Regions from separate parts of the Homo sapiens genome. Here all the other regions are linked to region 2. Evidence: promoter capture Hi-C in 16 types of primary human blood cells and fetal thymus (Javierre and others, 2016). All regions are on one chromosome and are shown on one strand. The core of a region is centred on a gene start or on the middle of the fragment in contact, and the rest is flanking DNA. Distances in the headings are between cores, read along the strand shown.

Region 1 (2,898 bases), core at 329-2,828, 460 kb after region 2:
ACCAGCTGAAATTTCATGGCATGGAATAGAACAGATTGGCCCCAAGGGCACATGCATTTGAATGCCTGCCAACTTCAGACTTAGGTGTCCCATTTAAAGTTAGCCAGACCAAACTGGTGAAATAGAAGCCTTCCTAGGAAGAGCTCACAATAGAATAATTGGCCACCTTGCTTCACCCCTTATGTCAATCCCTTAAAATAGGTGCACGTTAAAATACACATTCCTACCTAACTTCTCTACCATTTAGCAATAGTTTTTAGAAAACCACATGTCCCTCCACTGTAATTACTGACGAGGCTCTTTCCCCACAGAGCTATATACCTTTCCTAAGCAGAGGCCATAAGTCCTCCAGGTAGGTACTTACCATTGTGCCTAGTACAGTGCCTGATATATAGTGACTGCTTAACAAATGCATGCATGGTGAATGAATTCATAATTTGATAAGTATATCTCTTTTTTTCTGAGACAGAGTCTCACTCTGTCGCCCAGGCTGCAGTGCAGTGGCGCAGTCTCAGCTTACTGCGGCCTCCGCCTCCCAGGTTCAAGTGATTCTCATGCCTCAGCCTCCCAAGTAGCTGGGATTACAGGCATGCACTGCCACACCCAGCTAATTTTTGTACTTTTAGTAGAGACAGGGTTTCACCACGTCGGGCAGGCTGGTCTTAAACTCCTGACCTCAGGTGATCTGCTCACCTCAGCCTCCCAAAGTGCTGGGATTACAGGTGTGAGCCACTGCGCCCGGCTAAGACTTTATCTTTAAACAAAGGCAATGTGTCCTAACTCTGTACTTTGTTTCCCTTGCTCACATTTTCTAGCCATGGCAGAAACTGAAGGGAAGAGAGATTAATATTTTCCATAGTATCAAAGTATTTATGTGCAAGGCACTTTTATGCTAGTGAGTATGCATTTGAAGTGAGTAGTGTAGCCCCCTTCTTATTCTTGGGAAGTGTGAGGTTCAGGTATGGTCTCAGCAAAGCCAGGATTCAAACCCCACAGTCTGTCTGAGCCTAAAATGCCTTCACTATGGCCTGTACTCGCCACTTTTGAATTTAAAGTACAGATATGCCCTGTCTTTTGCTTTACCTCATAAAAAATACAAATTTTAACTTTAAAACAAGACTCCATCTCAAAAAATTCATTTGTATTAGTCAATAAATGTTTATTAAACATCCAATATGTGTAGGGCCCTGTTTTAGGAACTGGGAATACTACAGTGAAAAGAAAGTCTCTGACCTCAAAAAGCTTATATGTTAGCAGGGACAAAAAGGCAAAAAATACATTAAAAATGAATACGACAATTTCAGACCTATGAGAAAGAATAAGACAATGTGGTACACAGTTACAGAGAGGGTGCTGATTTCACTGGATGGTGGGAAAAAGCCTCTTTAAGTCAGTGACCTTTGTGTTCAGACTCAGAAGGGGAGAGCAAAGAGCCATGTGAAGGTCTGGGAAAAGAACATTCAAAAAGAAGAAGTCAGAGGAACAAAGTTTATGAGACAAGATCCAGATTGGTGAACCCTGAGGTAAGGAAGGAAGCCAGTGTGGCTGAAGCACAGCAAGCAGGAGGGACAGCACTGAGATGGGGTCAGGGGAGTGGGGCCATCCAGGCCATAGGAAAATGCTTAGATTTTTGGTCTCTGAGTAAGTGAAAACCATTGAAGAGTTTTTGGCAAAGAAATCATCTAATATAGCTCATTCTTTAAAAACATCATTAAGGCTACTGGATATGGAAGATGAACTGTTGGGGGCTAAGAAAGGAGACACGGCAACCAGTTAGGACTGAAAGGGTCCAGGCCACAGATGACGGTGGCCTAGCCTAGGGCTGTAGCAGTAGAGCTGGTATCAAGGGTCATGGCAAAATGCAAGTTACCAAAGGAAACCAAACAGATACACCCACGATACATGGCAAGCTTAAAAAATGTTAATATTAAATGAACAACATCCCCAAGAGGACTATGATCCACATTTTAAAGAAGAAGAGTTATTACATTGACTTCCTTTACTTTTCCTGCTTTAAAACAAATGAAAAAGTTCTGAATGGGATCAAATATTCTAAGTTGTCTTAACTGATAGAATGCCTCAGGATTTATAATTGGTACTGTAAGGTTGAAAATTCAATCCACGAACCAACTTTGCTTCTAAAGACGACTGATCTGTAATAATAGTCTCAAGCCTCTTCTCTTTGTCTCAGGAAACCTGTGAGCCACTGACTCCAGAAAGGCTGAAGTAGGATCCAAAGGGGTGGCTCCAACTAGAGGTCGGAGGGCGAGGTTAACCAGGAAGTGCCTCTTGCAGCTGTGATTCCTACCTCCAGACATTTCTGGATTGCCTGCTTTTAGCACTTTGACAGTTCAGGTGCATTTATTTATTCTTCAGAACCTGAGTATCAGTTTTCCATAAATCAATGTGCAAATATGTCTTGAGCCTGTACTGTATGTCAGGCACTATGCTAGACAATAGGGATACAGCAACAAACAATACAGACATAGCTCCTCCATAAATAGTGCATTTCAATCAAGTGGGGAAGATGGACATCAAACATAAAATTATAAGACCTCTTAACAAAAAGGAGGCAGCAAGGGCTACAGGTGTCTGTAGCAAAGGGATTAATTGTAGTCTAGGGGGTTCACCAATGTCAGAAAAAGCTTCCCTCAGGAAGTGACATATAAACTGAGTTCTAAAGATTATGGGTAATATGTATCCTAGGGGAATTTTTTTGTTTGTTTGTTTTTGTTTTTGTTTTTTGAGACGGAGTACTCTGTTGCGCAGGCTGTAGTGCAGTGGTGCGATCTCGGCTCACTGAAACCTCCACCTCCTGGGTTCACGCAATTCTCCTGCCTCAGCCTCCCAAGTAGCTGGGATTACACGCGCCCCACCACCATGGCCGGCTAATTTTTG
Region 2 (2,702 bases), core at 88-2,587:
AAACGGGAATTCAGCCACCAGTATGCCATTTCTGCCCCGGGTGGAAAAGATTCAAAAATAAGACACCAATTGTCAGTAATACAAAGTGGATGGATGCAGTGGTGGACACAAAGCAAACACTGAAGGGGAGACGATGTACGGGGGCAAAAGAAAGAAAAACATTAACAGCTAGGTTGTGACTTGGTGTTGGGTGTGTTTTCACAGAAGGGAGTCGCCAGTCATTCCTATAAAGCAGTCTTCTAAACCAAAGGATAAAGGTGTGGTAGGCTATCTTTTGAAGTGAGCATGTAAAATTCCTGGAAGGAAAAGTAATGAAGAGCTAACGGTTCTTGGAAAGAGGTTCTGAGAAGTGACTGGGATTTATAACAAGATACTCTTTTACGCAGAGTTGTGAAGTGGAAAGAACTAAACTGGAATACCAGCTCCAAGTATGACCTTGGGCAAGTTACTTAACCAATCTAGAGTCTCAATTGCAAAATGCAGATAATACCTCACAGGATTGCTGTAAGATTAAATAAGATAATGGATAGGAAAGCTGTTAATGCGATACAAATAACAGGTATCATTAGGAGTTACATTCTCCACCCACTTACAACATTATATGTCCATGACCTTGGGCGTGATTTCAGCTCTTTGCACCTCGGTTTCCTCATCTATAAAATGGGGAGGATGATACCATCTACCCTATAAACACTCTGAGGATCAAAGGAGACCATAGATGAGACATCAATGCCTTGAAAACCGTACAGTGCTAAACGTATAGAAACTGCCATCGTTGCTGATACATTTGATGCATGTCAAGGGCCGTGTTTATGCAGGGAAGCACGTATTTTTATGCTATACAGGTGAGGAAGCCTCTCATGCATTTATGCATCCAGGAGTGGGGCACGGGGCACAGATGCACATCTACGGATTCCGGGGGTGTGACTTGCACGCTTGAGAGGAGGACCGGAGGTCAAGCTGCTGGGCCAGGAATCAGAGGAGTGGGCGCTACAGTGGGGGTAGTGGGATGCAGGATGCATGGATGGAAAAGGCTGGGGGCACAAACACGCATGCCCAAGCCGGAAACGTTTTCGGGGGAGAGCAATGCGCATCCCCGGAATGAGGGGGGTGGGGAAGGATGCGATGTGCAAGCACGGAGGGCGGCCCGGGGGTGCGATACCGCACGCCCGGGGCCAGGACTCTTTACCTTGTCGCTGTAATCCCTCAGGACCCGCTCGATAGCCCCTGCTTCGCCGGCCCGGACGATGTAGAGGGCGCGCTCCTCATCCATGGCCGCAGGTGCGGGGGAGCCGCGGCCGCTCTGCGCGCCCAAGCCGCTGCCTCCAGGTAAACGCCTCGCGCCCCCGCTCGCTCCTTCCCAGCTTCCTTCCTTCCCTCTTTCCCTCCCTCCGTCCTGCCTCCAACCCGCCAGCCTCCGCCCGGGCCGGCCCGACGTCACCGCCCCTCAACTTTCACCCCGCGACGTCACCGCTCCCCCAGCAACCGGCGCCTCACGGCCGCCCCTGACAAGGCCCAGGACTCGGTCGAGGCCTGGCTAGCGGACCGAGGCGGAGTCAGGCCCAAGGCCCTGCTTGCTCTCCTGCCTCTCCCTCCCTCGGAGAACTGTCCAGTCTTTTAAGGGGGCTTTCACAGACTGAACCGTTCTTCTTTCCTGACCCTCCTCTATGAATCATTCTCAAAGGACTAGAGCAACCCGGCTCTTCCCCGCCCATCTATGAACCAGCCGCTAAATGGACTGCAATTCCCTGCATGCAATGGGGCTATCCCGCTCTTCCATCTAATTTACTGGCGTGCCGAATGGCATGCTGGGATTGGTAGTCATCCAGCCGGAAAGAATTCCCGCCAAGGGCATGCTGGGAACTGTGGTACCGCGAGGGCCGGAAACGGGAGTCTGGCGGCCGCCTGAGGCCAGCGGCGGGGAGACCGTTAGAGGGAGGGTCTAAGCGTCTGCTTCGGTTTTGTTCGTTATGTCGCTGACTGTCCTGCTTCAGTCTCGGCTGGCTGGGCTGGCTGGACTGGCCGACGGTCGCGGAAACTGCCATCCCTTGGTGGGAACTGTCAAGCACGGTTTAATTCCCTTTTCTCATTTAGCGGTTTCGGTCTCGGGAATTCCTTCCACCCTTATTTGCGTTCTTGTTATGTACTCAGCTACAGTAATGTGGGAAATAATTGAAGGCAGTTATCTGGATAAAAGAGGACTCGGCGATTTTCTGCCTTAATACTAATCTCTAGCATGCATCTCGTGCCACCGGGGCTCCAGACTCTCTTAGGTAATTTCCCTATATCCTCTAATTCTCCCAACACAAATTTTTGTGGAAATAAAAAGGAACCCGAATAGTTTCAGTAATTTATCCTAAGTCACACGGCCAGAGAATGGGAAAGTCGAGGTTTGAAACCAGGCCTTTCCCCCCGAAGCGGCCGCTCTACGACCTCCGGGAACTGTAATAATACCGATACAGTAGCGGTGGTGGTGATGACAAAGATTCCCATTGCCCCGGTGGTAATTACGTGTCAGGCACTCTGTTAATACTTCACCTGTGTTAGCTCAATCAATTTCATACACATTCATTCAACAAATATTTGAGAGCCTGTGCTGTGCCCAGGTGCTGTTAAATGCAGTGTGGATACAGTGGGCCCAAAGTAAAGTCCCTGCCTTCATGGAGCTTCCATTCTAGTGAGCACCCATATGAGTTATTCTC
Region 3 (2,809 bases), core at 252-2,751, 290 kb after region 2:
ATAGAATCCACAGTGAGCTCTAGAAGTTGTAAGTTAGATCTCGTCACTCCTTTGCTTATATTCATTTTTATGGTTTGTATGTACCCACAAAAACTCATGTTGAGATTTAATTGATATGGGGCCTTTAAGAGGTGGTTAGGTCATAAGGACTCCATTCCCATGAATGGATTAATGCCATTATTACAGACTTGGGTTACTTATCTCAGGACTGGTTTGGTTATAAAAGCAAGCTCTCCTGCCCCTCTGCCTGTCTGCCACGGGATGATCCTCTCCAGATGCTGGTGCCACGCTCCTCCACTTCCAAGTCTTTAGAACCATAAGCCAAATAAACTTCTTTTCTTTATAAATTATCCAGTCAGTGGTATTTTGTCATAGCAGCAGAAAATGGACCAAGACACCCACCATCCAACGGTTCTGTTGGTTCCCAGCATATCTGGAGTAAAGTCCAATCTCCTTTCTTTTAGCCAAAAGGCCCTATAGGATATGCCCCCATCATCCTTCTGTCACTCCCCAAGTCTCATACTGTGCTGCTTGTCAGGCATATGCCTGGCCAGACTGGCCTTTTTTCTGTTCCTTGAATATACCAAGCTTATTCGTGCCTCAGAACTCTTACCCTAATGATTCTCTCTGCCTATAACTAAATCCTCCCAGACTTTTGCTCGGCTGGCTCCTTTGTATCCTTCGTGTCTCAGCTCAATGTCGCTTCCTCCGAGAGGCTGTTCCTGATCGTAATCTAAAGTACACACCCCCACCTCTAAACCATCCACTCTTTTATATCATTCTTCATATATGGCACTTATCATTACCTTCAATTATCCTGTTTATATTTTTGTTTACACTTTTTTTTCTTGAAATGGAGTCTTGCTATACTGCCCAGGCTGGTCTCAAACTCCTGGGCTCAAGTGATCCTCCTGCCTCAGCCTACTAAGTAGTTGGGGTTTATATTTTTGTTTACTTCTTTTTTGTCTGTTTCCTCCCCAAGGAGAACACAAATCCCGGGAGAACAGAGACCCCATCAGTCTTGTTTACCTCTGTATTTCCAGTATTTAGAACAGTGCTTGGCACACAGTGAAAGCTCAATAAATGGATGAATTAATCAACAATATAGGCACTCGAGATGATCTTCCATCATCTCACCATCTCAAGTCAGTGAGACACAAATGCTTTGTGATTGGTGCCATCGTTTACCGGATTAAAACCACAGTCCCCGTGGTTTTTCTTCTTTATGCTGTCTTTATTTCAGTCAGTCAAGTCCATTCATTTGCTCTTCTCTGCTGCCCCCTGTTTTTCTTTCACATCTTTATCAAAGCCCTCTAAGCCTGAACCCCATCTAGTCTCTGAGGGCTTCCTTTACCAGGCAGCCTGCAAGAGAAGACCCAAGACAGACCTGCCCGCAGCTCACCTTTACTGCCTCCTGTCTGTGCATCAGGCACTGTGTTCCCTGCTTTTACACATTAGTATCAAGGAGGCCAAGACATAAAGGGACAAAATAGTTCACCTAGTTGGAGTTCAAGACCTTTCTCTCTCTGCTATACTTTTCGTCAATCCGAGGGCTTTCTTTAAATACTGAACAGAGGATGGCTGTGATGAAAAGGCAATATGTTCATTCAGTATGGCCCACAAGACAAGGCAGGACTAACTGCAGTAACTTATAGACTCTTGAGCACTCTTACTAACTCTTGAGCACCTCTGACTCAAGAAAACTATCAGAGCAGTGCTACTACAGAAGAGGCTGCCTCAGAAAATAGCAAGGGCCTCCCTTCACAGGCCACAATCAACATGGAAAACCATCTGCCAAAGATAATCTAAAAAGAACTCTTATACTAGAAGATGGATTTAGACTGGACTTCTAAAAGGACTTTTCAAACTCTAAGATTCTATTCCTATCTATGGTAAACTCTAAACCTCTATATTTTTAGTGGTTTCTCCCATATAATTTAGCATTTAACTATGTAATCCTTCGTATCCATCTTTTTGCTTCAGGTGTCAGTCAACTCCTCATGGGCATTAGTCAAGGGATTAATTTACTTTCTATCCCCTAAAGTGCCCCACACAGTTTTGAGCCCACAACAGTAACTTAAAAATGACCGAATAGGTTTCCCTGGGGCTGTCAAGGCAGGTTCTCATTTGTGCCTGGGATGGACGTGGGTGGGCATGTATACAGTTGACCCTTGAATAACACAGGTCTTAACTGTGCAGGTCCACTTATATGGGGATTTTTCTTCAATGAGATATGAATCGAAAATACAGCATTTGCGGAATGTGAGCCCTTCTCCACAGAGGGACAACTTTTCATATATTTGGGTTTTACAGGCCCAACTGTGGGACTTGAATATATGCAGGGGTCCTGGAACCAATTCCCAGCATATACTGAGGGATAACTATATTTAGTTATTATGGCTGAAGAAGCTTTAGTGGGCCTGTGTGATCAGTTAGGGTTGGGGAGCTATGAGTCTTAGGTGTTGAAACTCCTGGTGCCAGTTTAGATAAAAATGAGGCATCTCATTTCTGATATTTACTAGGAAGAATAAATTACACTTATTCTGGGAGTAGTGAGTTTGGCTTGTTATGTCAGTACAATTTCCAACAAGACCAATGAATATGTAAAATCCTTTATTTAATAAAGGATTCCTCAAACATCATAAGTGGATACCATATTATATGCAAAGTGCTATGCTGGGTGCTTTGGGGTTAAGTAAATCAGCAGGGCATGTTTCCTAATCTCAACGAACCTAAAATATACTTACCTAAGTGATATGGTTTAGATTTGTGTCCCCACCCAAATCTCGTGTCAAATCCCCAGTGTTGG
Region 4 (2,899 bases), core at 57-2,556, 410 kb after region 2:
GGGTCATAAGGGAACTTTCTGGGGTGATGCAATGTCCACATAGAGCACATAACTATAAAACCAATGTAACTGAATATCTAGTATCCATACATTTTATTATATAAATTACACCTAAATTTAAAAATAGAAGAATGACAATGATATAGGTTGAATTGTGTCCCTCTCAAAATTCATATGCTAAAGTCCTAATCCCCAGTATCTCAGAATGTGACTGTTTTTGAAGATGGGGTCTTGACAAAGGTGATTAAGTAAAATGAGTCATTAAGGTGAGCCCTAATCCAATACAACTGGTGTCCTTATAAAAAAGGAGAAATTGGACATAGAGATGCACACAGGGACAATGCCATGTGAAGATGAAGGTAGAGGTCTCAGTGAAGCTTCTGCAAGCCAAGGGATGCCAAAGATTGCCAGCAAACACCTGTAGTAGGGGACGGCCCAGAGCAGATCCTCTCTCATAGCCCTCAGAAGGAGCCAGCTCTGTTGTCACCCTGATCTCAGACTTCTAACTTCCAGAACTATGAGAAAACAAATTTCTGTTGTTTAAGCCACCTAGTTTGTGGTTACTTTGTTACGGCAGCCCTATGAGCTAATACTCCCACATCTTCAAATTCCTCTCTCTACACCCCTTCTTATACTCGTTTCCTCCCACTTCAAAGGAAGGACCATCCATTCCTTGGTCTAAGGCTAACCCTTCCGCCACAGACACAATCCTGCCAACCTTCTCCTGAAGACTGGAAACCTTGCCCCAGTTCAGTCCTTGATATTCAACCTGTTCTATTTAAAACGAGTATTCAAATCCTCCCATTAAAAAAAAAATTTAAAACTTTCTTGACTCAGCAGCTCCTCTGACTACTTTCTTCCCTGCCCTTCAGCTTACGATCTCTCCCAAATTACTCCATATTTAGCTTCTCTGTTCCTCACTTCCCACTCCTTCATTCCGTTATAGTCAGGACTCTGACCTACCTGCCAGTGAAAGAGCTCGACAGAGGTCACCAAGGCTGCTACTTCAAAAGACCTCCCTTGATGCCCCCTCACATTCCCTTTCCACAGTATTTGGCCATGCCGATCACTGTCTTATAACACTCTGTGGTATCATTCTCTTATGTCTTTCCTTCCTCCGGCCGGGCCTTGTCACACCTCTTTTTCTCTGCCACCCTGCAAATTTTGGTGTTCTTCAAAGTTCTATCCCTGGCGATGTCTTTTCTCAAGTAGGGCTGGGAATGGAGGATTTCAAACAACACTGTTTGAAAGTGTTGTTTAGCTTCCCCCATCTCATCCCACAGCCCCCCAGTTCCAAATGTGGGCTCTTTCAAGGGCAGTGACCCTGTCTATCCTGTTACCACAGTGCCTGGCACATAAAAGACTCCAATAAATACTGAATAAATAAATGAGTGAGTGAATATCACTGTTGCAGTAAGCTACTGGGTATGGGCCTGTCCCCTCCAACTATTGACTGGGCAGTGATACCTTACAGCCTCAGAGGCTACTTAAGATCAGTATGTCCAAAATTAAATCTTCCCCCAGCTCCATTCTCAATCTCAATGAATATCACCATTTATCCCAGTCAATCCCAAATTAGATACCCGGGAGTCCTAACTTTCTGACTCTTCTTAATCAACAGGAAAACAAAAATTCTACTGAGTCGACCTCCTTTTAACCTTCCTCGCATTTATCCTCTGCTCCTGTGCCAGTTGAGGCCCTCATAATCTTTCAGCTGGTCTGCGGCAATACTTCCTTACTACTCTTCCTGCTCGTCCCTTTCAATGCTCAGCACTAAAGCCAGTGTACATGTCCTCATGTGCACAGCTGAGCACCTCATTCTCTACAACTCTTCAGTGCCTCCCCACCCTCTTCACCATGTCTTAACTCCACAGCGAGGCATACATCATATGCTGTGCTTGCAGCTGTACTTGTGCCTACGCCTCCTCCTTCTATCTGGAATGCTTCCGCACCACCACACTTCATCCACATCTGGCAAACTCAGTTCAGGCATCACATCCTAGCTACCATTTGTAATACCAAAATACCCCTCGCCTACTTGTATCACAGTACCTATTGCATGTTATTCCACTTGCTTACACGTCTCTCTCTATAAGCCTATAACACACTGGGAGGCAGAAAACACATTTTTTGAACTTGTATAAACCCTGTGAATAATACACCACCAGGTAAGTACTCAGTAACACTGACAAATATTTATTCAACAAGTAACTGATTAATTGGCTCCAAAGCTTGTGTTGTTTCTACCATACTACCATGCTGCTGTGCTACCATAAGCACAAAAAAATACACACCAGGCATGGCCAGTTCAAGTAAAACTGAGCTCCTAACTAGAAAAAGTTGCAGCGAAAACACTGAAGTTGGAAAGTTTAAGTAAATATTTTAATATCTCAATTTAAAAGGAAATGGCAGCAAGTAGCAGAGATCTACCATCTTCTGGGAGAATCAGGAAAGGCCTTCCTAGGGAAGTTATATTATAGATATGTGGGATTTAATCTACAAATAGGAAGGGGAGAGCGATCCAGAAGAAACTGAGCAGAGTAGAAAGATCTCAGGGGAGGGAGAGGGGGGAACCATGGGAAAAGAGACTAGAGAAGTAAGCACTGGTCAGACTGAGGAAATTTATTACAAACATGGTAAACACTAGATTTTGCCCTAAGAGCAATAGGCAGAGATTGAAGAACTTTAACCAAGGGAGCAACATAACCATGTTTGTGTGTTTAAACGGACAGCTCTGGCTGCAGAGCAAGGAACAGACTGGATTGGGACAAGTCAGGTGCCAGGTAGGCCAGTTAGGAAGTAAGAGAGGACAGTCGTTCTGGGCTGGAAAACGGTGGGAATGAAGTTTCAGATATGCATAGATTAAGAACTCAGGACTTTTTAGAGGTGATGGTGGATT
Region 5 (2,853 bases), core at 30-2,529, 440 kb after region 2:
CTCATAGTAATTTGAGAACATATTCAAGTGTTCATAATAAGTCAGTAGCAGAGCTGGGATTTAAACCCTGGTCCATCTGACCCGAAAGCCTGTCTTCTTAGTAACCACTTTCTGTATACTTTATAATAACATTTCAGCAGCACTGGGTATTCCCTAAAGGCTTAATAAATAAAAGTTTCTGGAAAGTAATGACTACCCATGCAGGGAAATCATAAGATAAGACCAACTGCAAAATCAGAGGTTTCCTTTCATTATAGGTCTTGGTCCTGGAATATTAATGAGCATCAGAATCAGGAGAAAGGTCAGATCAGGGCTCAGTCCTTGGTCTGCCCTTTTCTGTTTGCAGCCCAAGGCAAATTCTATTCTATCTGTAAGCTTCAGTTCAAAATGAGAAGTTGGATTCTGTAACTACATGGGCTCCTTTTGGCTCTTAATAGTCTAGGATTTCATCAAGTAATTTATATGCTCTCTGAATAATAGGTGGGAGGATGAGAAGACAGGTGCATTTCCCTTCAATTACAGGAATAAAGAGGACATGCCTCTGAAGACACCTGAAAGGGGAACCAGCAGAAGCTGATCCATAAGAGACCCATAGAACCATCTGGCCATTCACCAAGACTAAGAATTTCTGACTTAGATAGGAATTCCTATTGGATGATGTAAATGCAAAATCTAAATGGGATTCTAGCATTCATGAAGGTGTAATACTGGAGATAAATTTAGCAAAAACCAAAATCTTCACTGGACTGTGTCACATCTCTGAAGGGCAGAATTGTCAGCACTTCTGAAGACTTCGTAGCAAGGTGGATTTGTGAAGTCAGTAAACATTTCACTGCAGAAAAATGATGAAGTCAGAACAACTGGAGGAAAGCCCTCTTCAATAGCACAATTCTAGGGAGGCCGAGATGGGTGAGTCATGAGGTCAAGAGATCGAGACCATCCTGGCCAACATGGTGAAACCCGGTCTCTACTAAAAATACAAAAATTAGCTGGGCGTGGCGGCGCATGCCTGTAGTCCCAGCTACTTGGGAGGCTGAGGCAGAAGAATTGCTTGAACCCGGGAGGCGGAGGTTGCAGTGAGCTGAGATTGCGCCACTGCACTCCAGCCTGGTGACAGAGCGAGATTCTGTCTCAAAAAAAAAAAAAAAAAAAAAAAATTGCGCAATTCTAAACATCAAGCTTGGCAGATTTCTGTGTTTCATTTGTTTTTTTCCAAAGCACTGTCAAAGAAAAGCTGTTGTACACATTCATTGTAAGTGGAAATACTACACTCACCCTGGCACTTGTCATGGAAAACACCTCTCCCTTCCTATGAGAGGACATCTAAGCCTTCAGAGATATTAAAGGAAATTCTAGAAAAAGGTGTAAGATAAGCTTCTCTAAAGCACAGTCCTGAATCTCACATCCAGATGTCCAAGGTCATTCTTGTTCTCTGAGACACATGCAGAGCCTTAATACAAGAGGGAGCAGATGCAAAAATTTGGAACTTACTCTTTGTTCATGCCTTCAAGTAGAACAGCTGAAATCCTTGTTAACCTGCTTGCAAGCTCAGGCAGGCCTCCTGTAATAGCACCCACCATGTTGTTGGTAATTAGGGACAGGCAGGCAATAATTTTCAATTGATTCAGCTTTTCTGTTAGTTCCTGAAGACGTGCTCCATCTGTCATAAGTGTCTAACATATTTATTTAAAATATAAAAATAGAAAGGGTAGCTCAATAGCATGAAAATACAAAACAGGCAATGTCATTTCCAAATTCCCATTTTTATCTGATTTTTGTAAAGTCATTAAACCACATGAAACACAGACCAGATGATTCAAAGTTAGAACTTAAGAATAAAAATACTGGGAAATTTGGGTGAAGAACAAAACCACTCACCTCTGGTAATTCTTTTTTCTGATAATCCCACTGTAACAGTTTCAAGTAACTATTATTTAGCACCAAAGTAGGGCTCAGGCTTGGCTTGGAGGTATTTTCGGCCCCAGGAGTTAAAGCACTCTCAGAAAGAGAAAATAATTCTTCATTTACAGATTCTTTTATCCATTCTGTAGTCTGATCAAGAGCACCTAAGAGTGAAAAGGCCACATATTTGTTCTACAGCTGATTGATCCCTTCACTGGTGTATTCCACTTGACAGATGCTGTGTTGGGTGCTGGGCATGAATGAGAAGACACAGCCATGCCCTGCAAGGAGTTTACAGTCCAGATGGAAAGGCAGACCTGTAAACTAACAATTATAACAGAGTACAATGAATGCTAGTAATTGTGGGAAAGAGGCTGTCCAGGAAAGAATCTAAGAGGAAGAGCTCTGTAAGTGCTCTGGAAAAGACAGCATATGGCACATTCTAGATGTCACATTCTGGATGCCACAAACAAATCTGTATTGCTGGTCCATAAAGAACTAGGGGTAAGAGGGTTGTAGCAAATGGCATTGGATGGGTGGTTAGAAGCCAGCCTTGAGTTTGTGCAGAGAAGGTATTTAGAGAAAAGGCATTAATTTTCACACATTTTTGGTAAAAGGTGAAAGATTTATACAATCTGAAGAGAAAATAGAGTATAATTATTACACATTTTTGGGTCTTGGACCACTTTTAATAACTAATTGGAGATATGCCTTTCCCAAAGTGAATGTGCACAATCACGTGCACATGTCCACAAACAATTGTCATTCTCTCTTACCAGATTGACAGTCCCCAGGTTACAAACACCAGCGATGGGAATGGGGAGTTTTGAATAATATTATTTTCTTTCTTTTCTTTTTTTTTAAGACGGGGTCTCACTCTGTCACCCAGGCTGGAGTGCAGTGGGGCAATCTCAGCTCACTGCAACCTCCACCTCCCATGTTCAAGCGATT
Region 6 (2,716 bases), core at 108-2,607, 340 kb after region 2:
ACTGTGCTCAAGTGATCCTTCCACCTCAGCCTCCCAAGTAGCTGGGATCATAGGTGCACACCACAACACTTGGCTAACTTTTTTTTATTTTTAGTAGAGATGAGGTCTCACTGTGTTGCCCAGGTTGATCTCAAACTCCTGAGCTCCAGCAACCCTCATGCCTTAGCCTCCCAAATTGCTGGGATTATAGGTGTGACCCACCACACCTGGCCCTCAGTCAATTTTGAAATGAGGGGTATAAAATAGCACTTTGAGAGATTCACATCTTTAAGGAAGAAAAATTCTGACCAAAAACCACTATTTACAAAGTGCAAAAAATATATATATTTGCAATATATATATTGGCAACAGGGTTTGCTTTGTCACCCAGGCTGGAGTGCAGTGGCATGAACATGGCTCACAGAGCCTCCACCTCCTGGACTCATGCAATCCTCTAGCCTCAGCCCCCTGAGTTACTGGGACTACAGGCGTACATCACCACACCTGGCTAATTTTTAAGTTTTTTGTAGAGACGGGGTCTTGCCATGTTACCCAGGCTGGTAAATTATAATCTTCTAAAAAGTAATATATTTCATTTGGTAGCAGAAAACAGAAAAGTTTTTCTTTTTCCTGTTTTAAGAGATAGGTTCTTACCCAGGCTGGAGTGCAGTGGCACAATCATAGCTCAGTGTAACCCATAACTCCTGGGCTCAAATGATCCTTCCACCTCAGCCTCCCAAGTAGCTAGGACTACAGGTGTGTGCCACTGTGTCCAGCTAATTTTTTATTTTTATTTTTAGACATAGGGTCTTGCTATGTTGTCCAGGCTGGTCTCAAACTCTTGGCCTCAGGCGATTCTCCTGCCTCAGTCTCCCAAAGCACTGGGATTATAGGGGTGAGCCATTACACTGGGTCAGAAAAGTACTTATTCTTGATTGAAGACATAAATAGTTATTAGGTGGTAGTATTAAACTCTCTAGCAATATATCTGCAAGAATTCCAATTTCAGGTAAGTGGTACATCAGTCACATGCATCAGACAGCAAGTTACATAGATGTTCTTTAATGTACTCTAAAATGGAACACAGATGCTTCTAAAAATATCATTGTTCAAGAAGAAATATTGTGAACATACTACCAATTCAAGTGCATACTGCACATAAACTTAGAGTTTTTGAACAGACTATGTAGAGAATTCCTGCACTGACAAGAATTCAGATGTCCATGGACAAAAATCATCTCTAACAGAGGTAAGTATATTTTTATACAGCTTGATTCATTAGTTCAACTTTGGCAGTAATCAAGTATTAAAATCAGAGAAGCAACTCCTTTTAAAAAATACACATTAAGGCTGGGCATGGTGGCTCATGCCTGTAATCCCAACTACTCAGGAGACTGAAGTGGGAGGATCACTTGAGATCAGGAGTTTTAAGTTTCACTGAGCTATGTTGTGCCACTGTACTCCTTCAGGGTGACAGAGCAAGACCTTGTCTCAAAAAAAAAAAAACATATATATGGTTTTATATACATATATATATATGGTTATCTATCTATATGGATATATGGATATATCTTTCTATGAGTGTGTGTGTGTATATATATAAACTGTCACACGAATAGGAAGGATAATTAAATCTAAAGATGACTTGTTAGCTGCTTTGTAATACTCTTCACTAGGATAAATGATGCGTTATGCTCTGCTATAAAATTGTATATTTCTTTATGGTACATACAGAAATATACAATATACATATATACCATGAAATACTATGCAGTCATAAAAAGGAACAAGATCATGTCCTTTGCAGAGACATGGATGAAGCTGGAAGCCATCCTCAGCAAACTAACACAGGAACAGAAAACCAAACACCGCATGTTCTCACTCACAGGTGGAAGCTGAACAATGAGAACACATGGACACAGGGAGGGGAACAACACACACCAGGGGGACTGTTAGGGGGTTGGGGGAGGAAGAGCATCAAGATAAATAGCTAATGCATGCTGGGCTTAATACCTAGGTGATGGGTTGATAGGTACAGCAAACCACCATGGCCCACGTTTACCTATGTAACAAACCTGCATGTTCAAACAAAAAAAAGAAGATTGTATATTTCTAACAGTTCCTGTCAAAAGAGTAAAAGATAGAAGGACTGAAGATGACAGTAAAAGAGAAGGTAGTTTCTATAGTCAGAACACGTTTTAATTATGGTTGCTATGGATCCTACTTACTTATTAATTGTGTGTTCGTACAGTGCAATGTTACAATCATTTTCTTCATTCACATCTAAATATTCAACCAGACTCTCATGTAAGAAATCTTCAAAATTCCTGGGAAAATATTGGTGAAAGAGACATCATTAAAAAGCATTTTTCTGCAGTATTTTATATAATAACAGGAGATACTGGCTTTCGTTTAGGCCCAAAGCACCTTTCTCTCCCAGAGAATATCATTACATTGGGATACCTGAAACATGTTATTCTTAGCTCACACAGTAACCACAAACTGCTGAAATAAAAACAGCAAAGTGTCTGTCTGTAACTCTTGTGAACCTAGTCCCCACTTCTTAAAAAAAAAATTCTGACCTTAGAAACCTCATAATGAGACCCACAGTGTCTACACTGACACATGATGTAAGTCCTTTTCTTACCAGAAACACTTACTTGTGTACTAACTGACATCAAGACTAGGTAACCCTCATGATCTAAATTGATGAATATTTTACAATGTCCAAGCAAGT

Evidence for each region. The method cuts DNA at HindIII sites, captures the fragments that hold promoters and counts their contacts. A CHiCAGO score of 5 or more calls a contact.
Region 1: a fragment that was not itself captured here is called in contact with the fragment with the promoter of RIC8B in region 2 in 1 of 17 cell types (fetal thymus); the score reaches 5.3 in fetal thymus.
Region 3: a fragment that was not itself captured here is called in contact with the fragment with the promoter of RIC8B in region 2 in 1 of 17 cell types (naive CD4 T cells); the score reaches 5.0 in naive CD4 T cells.
Region 4: a fragment that was not itself captured here is called in contact with the fragment with the promoter of RIC8B in region 2 in 6 of 17 cell types (activated CD4 T cells, total CD8 T cells, total CD4 T cells and 3 more); the score reaches 7.4 in activated CD4 T cells.
Region 5: a fragment that was not itself captured here is called in contact with the fragment with the promoter of RIC8B in region 2 in 3 of 17 cell types (naive CD8 T cells, total CD8 T cells and fetal thymus); the score reaches 6.2 in naive CD8 T cells.
Region 6: a fragment that was not itself captured here is called in contact with the fragment with the promoter of RIC8B in region 2 in 2 of 17 cell types (total CD4 T cells and naive CD4 T cells); the score reaches 5.5 in total CD4 T cells.

Annotation. Positions count from the first base shown.
Region 1 is chr12:106,315,080-106,317,977 of GRCh38, reverse strand. The region is part of intron 3 of TCP11L2 (t-complex 11 like 2); the gene reads right to left. Among named protein-coding and RNA genes, the nearest start is that of TCP11L2, 14 kb to the right of the region's middle. The HindIII fragment of the contact is 668 bases long and covers 1,245-1,912 here.
Region 2 is chr12:106,773,317-106,776,018 of GRCh38, reverse strand. It overlaps RIC8B (RIC8 guanine nucleotide exchange factor B), which reads right to left and starts at 1,337. Exons shown (of 10, transcript NM_001330145.2): 1 at 1,190-1,337. The coding sequence starts at 1,273. LOC100287944 (a long non-coding RNA gene) reads left to right here and starts at 1,188. Exons shown (of 4, transcript NR_040246.1): 1 at 1,188-1,329. RefSeq lists enhancers at 817-866, 1,637-2,188 and a silencer at 1,197-1,426. The HindIII fragment of the contact is 11,909 bases long and covers 1-2,702 here.
Region 3 is chr12:106,482,632-106,485,440 of GRCh38, reverse strand. All of the region lies in intron 23 of POLR3B (RNA polymerase III subunit B), which reads right to left. Among named protein-coding and RNA genes, the nearest start is that of RFX4, 99 kb to the left of the region's middle. The HindIII fragment of the contact is 1,821 bases long and covers 591-2,411 here.
Region 4 is chr12:106,360,034-106,362,932 of GRCh38, reverse strand. The region is part of intron 1 of POLR3B (RNA polymerase III subunit B); the gene reads right to left. Among named protein-coding and RNA genes, the nearest start is that of POLR3B, 3.7 kb to the right of the region's middle. The HindIII fragment of the contact is 1,854 bases long and covers 380-2,233 here.
Region 5 is chr12:106,334,852-106,337,704 of GRCh38, reverse strand. It overlaps TCP11L2 (t-complex 11 like 2), which reads right to left. Exons shown (of 10, transcript NM_152772.3): 7 at 1,879-2,066; 8 at 1,492-1,673. Among named protein-coding and RNA genes, the nearest start is that of POLR3B, 21 kb to the left of the region's middle. The HindIII fragment of the contact is 195 bases long and covers 1,182-1,376 here.
Region 6 is chr12:106,437,271-106,439,986 of GRCh38, reverse strand. It overlaps POLR3B (RNA polymerase III subunit B), which reads right to left. Exons shown (of 28, transcript NM_018082.6): 18 at 2,208-2,306. Among named protein-coding and RNA genes, the nearest start is that of POLR3B, 81 kb to the right of the region's middle. The HindIII fragment of the contact is 4,381 bases long and covers 1-2,716 here.